3 separate regions of the Homo sapiens genome follow, and all the other regions are linked to region 3. The links are contacts of gene promoters, found by promoter capture Hi-C in blood cells and fetal thymus (Javierre and others, 2016). All regions are on one chromosome and are shown on one strand. Each heading gives the region's core, a stretch centred on a gene start or on the middle of the fragment in contact. The rest is flanking DNA. Distances are from core to core; before and after follow the strand shown.

Region 1 (2,700 bases), core at 29-2,528, 100 kb before region 3:
TTGGTTTCCCATACTTAATTTGAGGCTTTTGCAATAGTATTTAAGATTACAGTGGTCCTTCCTATCCATAGTTTTGCTTTCTGTGGTTTCAGTTACCTGAAGTCAACTATGGCCCAAAAATAGGTGAGTACAGTGCAGTAAGATATTCTGAGAGAGAGAGAGAGACCATGTTTATAGAACTTTTGTTACAGTATTTTATCATTATTCTATTTTATTATAAGTTATTGTTGTTAGTCTCTTACTGTGCCTAATTTATAAATTAAGCTTTATCATAAGTATGTAGGTAAAGGAAAAACATAGTATATTTAGGGTTCAGTAATATCTGAGGTTTAAGTCATTCACTGGGGGACTTGGAAGGTATCTGCTGTGGATAAGGGGGGACTACTGTACATAGATGACTGCTTTTTTTGATAGTAAAATATGTAACATAAAATTTACCATTTTAACCATTTTTTAAGTGGTTACATTCAGTAAGTACATTTACATTGTTGTGCAGCCATCACCACTATCCATCATCAGAATTTTTTATGTACCCATTAAGTAATAATTCCCCATTCCCCCTCCCAGCCCCTGATAACCACGTTATCTCTATGAATTTGACTATATGGACTGGTTTCTAAAAGGTATAAGACCTTGCAAAATTTGGCTGTGTAGAGTGGCTCATGCCTGTAATCCTAGCACTCTGGGAGGCCAAAGTGGGAGGACTGCTTGAGGCCAAGAGTTCAAGACCAACCTGGCCAACAGAGTGATCTCTAAAGAGAAAAAAAAAAAATCTAAAAAAAAAAAAAAAGACCTTGCAAAATTTACTTTAACAGTAGGGCCTTAAAAAGACTATCATAGAGACAGAGAAAATTTAATAAAAAATCATGACTCTGCAAGATTTATGCAACTATAAATTAGATAATGTCACTGAAATTAACAAGCTATAGGAAGCACAATAATAACAACAAAAATGGTGATATTTAACTAAATACATATTAGGGACCTTATGAAGAACTTGGCACATGATGTTTCATTAAGGTACTTCACACATACCTGTGAAGAAGCTACTGTTGTATCAGTTGTGTGACCTTGGTCCAAACACCTAAACTTCTGTGCCTATGCTCAGCTATAAGAAGGGAAATGAAAACAGGATGTTAATCATAGGATTACTGTGAGGAATCAATGAGTGAATTTATGCAATGCCCTTGGCATAGTACCTGGCATTTTAGGGAGTTCTCAACAGATGATAATGACGACAATTGTATCCATTTAACAGGCGAGGAAGCTGAGGCTTGGTGAGGTCAAGAGGCAGGAACAGTACCTGAATCCAGCTTTCATACCAGAGCCAGTATTCTAAATCTTGTCTCTCTGTTGCTTCTAAAGACAAAAATAAGCAGATGGGAGTCTAAGATCTCATGGAAGGAGAAATGAGGGCTCCAGAGTTAGGGGTAAAAGACAGACACAGAAATGGAGATTGGACTCTGAAGCCAAGGGAGCTGCTTGAGGGAGTAGAGAACAGAGTTGTGAACAGTCTAGACTCCAGAACCAGCCCACCAGTACTGGAATACAGGCATGTCCAACTTGCTAGTACTTTGTGCTCTAATGTCTAATCTATAAACTGGATGTAATAATAATACCTACTTCATAGGAAGGTCAGTGAAAGTGACTAAGTATACACAAAACATGTGGAACAGTTTCTGGCAGCTTAAACAATCAATAGAAGTTACACATAAACCCATGCAGATGCTTTACATGAAACAGTCAGGGAGCCCCTCCCTTGCTGCTGTGGACCAATGTCTGTGTCCCCTCAAAATTCTTATGTTGAAGCCCTAATGTGATGTTATTGGGAGGTGGGGCCTTTAGGAGGTAATTAGGTCATGAGGGTGAAGCCTCCATAATGGGATTGCTTTCCTTGTAAGAAAAGCAAGTAACCTAGCTCTTTCTCTCTTCCTCCCAGGAAGATACAAGACAACAGCTTCTGCGAACCAGTAAGAGTGGCCTCATTAGACATTGGATTTGCCAGTGACTTGATCATGGACTTCCCAGTCTCCAGGACTGTGAGTTATAAAGGTTTGTTGTTTAAGCCACCCAGCCTATGGTATTGTTTGTTATAGCAGCACAAATGGACTAAGGCACTCACGGAGTCTGCAGCTTCACATGGCTTGATGATGGGGAAACATGGGCTGGATTCCAGATTCCACTTGACCCTTCAGCAGAGAGCCTCTGCACAGTGAAAAATGGAGTTCTTGTAGCTCTCAGGGTATGATTCTGATTCTATGGAGGGTGGAAACGAGTAAAATACCCAGATTAAAAGCTTAGTATTAGTTAATTACTGCTTGATTTATTAGTAAATTATTCTTAGTTCTCTTACTTCAGATAGAAGAACCCTTACTATTGAAAAGGGAAACATAAAACCTTCCAATCTTAGAAGAAATACTTATTTATTTATTTTTCTGAAATGGAGTCTTGCGCTGTGGCCCAGGCTGGAGTGCAGTGGAATGATCTCAGCTTACTGCAACCTCAGCCTTCCGGGTTCAAAAGATTATCCTGCCTCAGCCTCCCCAGTAGCTGGATTATGGGCACCCGCCACCATTCCTGGCTAATTTTTTTTGTTTCTTTTGTTTTTTTAGTACAGATGAGGTTTCACTATTTTGGCCAGGCTGGTCTCGACCTCCTGACCTCAAGTGATCCACCCGCCTTGGCCTCCCAAAGTGCTGG
Region 2 (2,700 bases), core at 21-2,520, 93 kb after region 3:
ATCAATGCTGCAATCAATGTATGTAGTTTATGCCTTGAGAGTACACAGGATGTACTGTATAGCTGTCCCACACAGGTTACCACAAGCTTTGTTAGTTTGGTGGCAGATATTAAAGAAAAATGATAACATTCAGGGTTCAAGTATGAGAGAGAACAATGGGAATTATCAGGCAAGACTGGGACTGAATTGTTAAATGTTACTGGGGCAGTTGGCAAGATTCACTGAAACCTATATACGTGCAGCCCAGGATGCTGCATTTAGAGTCCTACAGGGTTACTTACAAGGAGACTCAGTAAGTGCACAAAGTAAACCTACAGGAGGTCTTTTCCATCACTGCACTTCTGGTGGAGCTCAGGAAAATCCATCATTATCAGGATACAGACAGAATGAATAGCAAATCTATGAGCTGGCTGGGCGCAGTGGCTCATGCCTGTAATCCCAGCACTTTGGGAGGCCGAGGCAGGCGGATCACCTGAGGTCAGGAGTTTGAGACCAGCCTGGCCAATGTGGTGAAACCCCATCTCTATTAAAAATACAAAAATTAGCCAGGCATGGTGGCAGGCACCTGTAATCCCAGCTACTTGGGAGGCTGAGGCGGGAGGATCACTTGAACCTGGGAATCGGAGGTTGCAGTGAGCCAAGATCATGCCACTGCACTCCAGCCCGGGCAACAGAGCAAGACTGTCTCAAAATAAATAAATAAATAAAATAAAATAATAAAAAAGGAAGTCTGTGTGTTGACCTATGTCTCTCAAGATCCAAAACAGCTTCTCATTCCTCCCCTCTGTCTGCTCAGTGCCACCCCTCTCTCAGTAGTCATTGGTCATGAGACTGAGGTTGCATATGTTCGATGCTGTAGGAGGCAGTGACCTTCAAGGACGTGGCTGTGGTCTTCACTGAGGAAGAGCTGAGGCTGCTGGACCTTGCCCAGAGGAAACTGTACCGAGAAGTGATGCTGGAGAACTTCAGGAACCTGCTCTCAGTGGGTGAGGACAGGCACCCTTTGTAAGGGAACATCAGGACCAGGAGTGGCTTTGTATCCTAGAGTGTTCAAGTTTGAGTATGCATTGGGAACCTAAGTTTCCAGTAAATTTTACTTAGATTTTTTTCTAGGATATATTGGCACTAAGCACATGACTTTTCACGTTCACAGGGCATCAATCACTCCACAGAGATACTTTCCACTTCCTAAAGGAAGAAAAGTTTTGGATGATGGAGACAGCAACCCAAAGAGAAGGGAATTTAGGTAAGAAGCAAGCAACTCTGTGTCCTTGTGCGTGACTCTCCCATCGGTTTCACTTCTGTCCATTGCCCAGCTCTGTTGTCCTGGTCTAAATGGCCAGACCTCTTTCCTGAATTATTACAGCTGACTTTCGGCTGGTTTCCCTGCTCCCACTTTTCCCACCCTGACATCTGTTTTCCTCATGGCAGCCAATGTATTCCTTAGGAAAGTCAGACTGCCATTCCTCGGCTCAAAAGCCTTTCTGGCTTCTTTTTTTTTTTTTTGAGATGGAGTCTCGCTGTGTCGCCCAGGCTGGAGTGCAGTGGTGCAATCTCGGCTCACTGCAAGCTCCGCTTCCCGGGTTCACGCCATTCTCCTGCCTCAGCCTCCTGAGTAGCTGGGAATACAGATGCCCGCCACCACGCCCGGCTAATTTTTTGTATTTTTAGTAGAGACGGGGTTTCACCGTGTTAGCCAGGATGGTCTCGATCTCCTGACCTCGTGATCCGCCCGCCTTGGCCTCCCAAAGTGCTGGGATTACAGGCGTGAGCCACCGCGCCCGGCTGGCTTCTTATGTTTACTTAAGTTACAAGTGTTTTAAGTGCCTTTTAGAGACCATGTGATCTGCTTTTCATCCCCCACCACCTCTCTGACTACATCTCCTGTCCTCTCCCTTTTGCCTTGTCCTTCCAGCCACGTTGTCCTCCCTACCGTTTCTCTGACCTGCCAAGGACACTGTATTGCCTGTTGTAGTAACCAATGACCACACATTTAGTCGACTAAACAACAAAAATTTATCATCTTTCTGTTCTTTAGGCCTGAAGTCTGACACGTCTCACCGGACAATTATCAAGCTGTCTGTAGGTGTTTGTTTCTTTCTGGATGCTCTTGAGGAGAAGCCTTTATTTTGGTTTACCAGTCTCTAGGCATTCCTTGGCTCTTGTTTCCCTTCCTCCATCTTCAAAGGCAGCTACTTTGCATTTCTGACCCTTCTTCCATAGTCATGCTCACTCTGCCACTCTTCTTATGCCTCTCTCTCCTGCCTTTCAGGTTCCTTGTAATTGTGTTGGTTACCCCTGGATGATTCACAATGACCTCTCTTTCTTGTTAGCTGATTAGTGACCTTAATTGCATCTGCAATCCCAGTCCCCCTTGCTGTGTAATATAACATGTTCATAGGTCTTGGGTACTGGATGTGGACATCTTTTATGAATCATTGTTCTGTCTACTACTGAAGCTTCTGCCTCAGAGCCCTTACTTGCTTTTCTGTCTGATCAGAATACTCTTTCACCTCAAAACTTTCTGGCTTCTCCTTTAAGCATATTCAAGTCTCTGTTCAGTTTTAGAGAGGCCATTTCCAACCACCCTATTTAAAATACTATTCTAGGCCAGGCGCGGTAGCTCACGCCTGTAATCCCACTACTTTCGGAGACCAAGGTGGGTGGATCACTGAGATCAGGAGTTTGAGACCAGCCTGG
Region 3 (2,792 bases), core at 85-2,584:
GTCAGAAAGTTGCAGGAAAAATATCTACATAGAAGAAGCAGTTGTATTTCTATACAAAAACAATTAATCTGAAAAGGAAAATAGTTCCCTTTGCAATAGCATTAAATAAATAAATTACTTAGGAACTGTCTTAACCAATGACAAGAAACACTTGGACACTGAATTTTGCAACATCTTACTAAAGAAAATTAAAGAAGGCACCCCAGGCATGGTGGCTTATGCCTGTAATCCCAGCACTTTGTGAGGCCCAGGCAGGCGAATAACTTGAGGCCAGGAGTTCGAGATCAGCCTGGCCAACCTGGTGAAACCCCTGTCTTCACTAAAAATACAAAAATTGGCCAGGTATGGTGGTACGTGCCTGTAATCCCAGCTACTTGGGAGGCTGAGGCAGGAGAATCGCTTGAACTCAGGAGGCGGAGGTTGCAGTGAGCCAAGATTGTGCCACTGCACTCCAGCTTGGGCGACAGAGTGAGACTCTGTCTCAAAAAAAAAAAAAAAAAAATTAAAGAAGGCGCAAATAAATGGAGATATATCCATTATTAATGGATTGGGCGACTTGATATTGCAAGGCTGTCAATACCTATATCTATAGATTCAATGCAATCCTTAATCACAGTAACATTTTTCTCAGAAATGAAAAAATCCACCTGAGATTCATGTGAAATATCAAGGGACACTCTCTCCCATGGTCATATTTTAGACCTCGTCATTTTCTAGCAAATATTCCTCCATAATAATTTGCAGCACTACTCTCCAACAACTTTGACTTGTATTTCCACCTTGGTCCCACCAGCATGCTAGCATCAGTAATATTAGAACCTCGCCAATACCTACAGTCCACTGAGACGATCACCTTTTTACTCTTTCAACTCCTCGTGTACTCACAGCCTGCCAAGCACATTTCTTGTCAGGAGAGGACAGCTCACTTCTCCTAATGTCTCACTTCCCAAAATTGTGTCCCATGAAAATTTCTAGCTAGATGAAGGCAGAGAAAGAAAATATTTGATTTCTTAGGCTTTATGGAAGCGATAGGAATGGCAATAGTGGTTTGGAATGGAGACTGCACGCACCAGTCAACAGGGTGTGTCCCGAATAAGCAGTGGGTAAAGGACATTTACTGAAATGCTATCTCCAACTCCACTTCAGGAAAGCTTGCTGCAGAGTTAGAGTGATATAGTCCAAATGCTCTGTTTGAGTCGCGGGCCCTTTGTCTCACACGGGCGAGTCCGGGGAATTCTGGGAAGTGGAGTCCACACGCTCTGTGGAGGCTCGAGCACTTCCGGTCCCCAACTGTGACGTTGCTATTTCATTTACCACAGTAGTTTGAGTCATTTCCACATCTTGCGAGTCCTTCCGAACGAGTCTCCTTTCCTTGGGGCTCGCAACCACCCAATGATCGATTCAGGAGAAAAGAAGCCTGGGCGGAGAGCAGAGGTTTGGAGGGGCGCGGGCGGGGATTGCCGTTCCAGTCAGCTGAGCCTTCTGGCGTCGGGGGGCTCTGCTAGGGTCTCAGGGAGTGGGATTGGCGCGGCCCGGTGTGCCCTACTTTGACCTCGCTTAGTCCGCCTCCCTCCTCCCTACGTGTGCAGCCCCTTTCAGTGTGGTGTGGAGTGTCACTTAATGTCCGTTTATCTTCCATTGCTGGTTCGTTTGTTTGTTTGTTTTGTAACGGGACTTTTCGGACCATCCTAATGGATTCATTTTGGGACCTGAAAGAGGTAACACAAATGAGAGCCTTAAAAGCAGTCCCTGTCACTCGGTGTCTGGTGGTCTCTTGTTAATTTCCCACGAAGCCTGTCAGGTCCTCTGGTGGGGTCAGAGCTCCAGCTGCAGGGGCGCCGGCCCTTCTGCCTGATCCCTGCAGGACGCTGGATGATCCCTGACGCCTTCTGACCTCTTTTTAGGAAAGTGAGGGGAGCATTTAACTTTTATGGGGGACGGCAAAACGGTCAGGGTGTTTCACAGCTTTCTTTTTCCCCAGCCCGACCTTTCTAAAAGAGCTGCAGGAAGGGACTTCTTGGCTACTGATGGCAAAGCTCTACGTGAGTGATCCTTGGCTTTTTTTCTTTGACAGAGATGCTTACCTCAACCGAGAGTGTGTAGGATTTGTCCCTCGGGCATGGGTGTCGATAATGATTAAGCCTTAATTGGTAACTTTATTCCAAGTACTTTATACCCCAAAATACATGATCTTCACAGTGGCACTGTGGAGAGGTGCTGCTTTTTTCATTTTAAAGATGGGCGTGAGACACAGGTGGAGCAGGAGTTGAAACCTAGGCAGTCCAGGTTAGAGCCTGAGTTGATCATCTCTTGAATGCAATTCTCATTGAGGCAGAGGTACTAGCTGGGAACAGGTGGAGAACGTAAGTTAGGACTTGATTGAAGGCACCTTGAGGCAAGGCTCAGGGGCTTGGACTTCTATAGGAGTTTTTGTTTGTTTGCTTTTTGCTTTTTAATTTTTTTAACCTTATCTACTATTTTCTTTCTCTCTCTCTCTCTATATATATATATATTTTTTTTTTTACAGAGTTTCGCTCTTGTTGCTTAGGCTGGAGTGCAGTGGTGCAATCTTGGCTCACTGTAACCTCCGCCTCTCGGGTTCAAGTGATTCTCCTGCCTCAGTCTCATTTTCGTCAAAGGGCCCGCGACTCAAACAGAGCATTTGGACTATATCACTCTAACTCTGCAGCAAGCTTTCCTGAAGTGGAGTTAGAGATAGCATCTCAGTAAATGTCCTTTACCCACTATTTATTCAGGACACACCCTGTTGACTGGTGTGTGCAGTCTCCATT

What was found. The method cuts DNA at HindIII sites, captures the fragments that hold promoters and counts their contacts. A CHiCAGO score of 5 or more calls a contact.
Region 1: a contact is called between a fragment that was not itself captured here and the fragment with the promoter of ZNF222 in region 3, in 1 of 17 cell types (total CD8 T cells). The highest score is 5.4, in total CD8 T cells.
Region 2: a contact is called between a fragment that was not itself captured here and the fragment with the promoter of ZNF222 in region 3, in 7 of 17 cell types (non-activated CD4 T cells, total CD4 T cells, total CD8 T cells and 4 more). The highest score is 8.4, in non-activated CD4 T cells.

The regions. Positions count from the first base shown.
Region 1 is chr19:43,923,203-43,925,902 of GRCh38, forward strand. ZNF45 (zinc finger protein 45) reads right to left here. Exons shown (of 10, transcript NM_003425.4): 4 at 2,123-2,256; 5 at 1,200-1,359; 6 at 1,036-1,108. ZNF45-AS1 (ZNF45 antisense RNA 1) reads left to right here. Exons shown (of 3, transcript NR_184050.1): 2 at 1,940-2,052. Among named protein-coding and RNA genes, the nearest start is that of ZNF45, 11 kb to the right of the region's middle. The HindIII fragment of the contact is 2,032 bases long and covers 263-2,294 here.
Region 2 is chr19:44,117,329-44,120,028 of GRCh38, forward strand. ZNF225 (zinc finger protein 225) reads left to right here. Exons shown (of 5, transcript NM_013362.4): 3 at 860-986; 4 at 1,154-1,246. Among named protein-coding and RNA genes, the nearest start is that of ZNF225, 5.3 kb to the left of the region's middle. The HindIII fragment of the contact is 2,373 bases long and covers 85-2,457 here.
Region 3 is chr19:44,024,045-44,026,836 of GRCh38, forward strand. It overlaps ZNF222 (zinc finger protein 222), which reads left to right and starts at 1,335. Exons shown (of 4, transcript NM_001129996.2): 1 at 1,335-1,434. The coding sequence starts at 1,393. ZNF222-DT (ZNF222 divergent transcript) reads right to left here and starts at 1,238. Exons shown (of 3, transcript NR_184028.1): 1 at 1,071-1,238; 2 at 854-975. RefSeq lists enhancers at 1,301-1,350, 1,581-1,630. The HindIII fragment of the contact is 1,542 bases long and covers 1,150-2,691 here.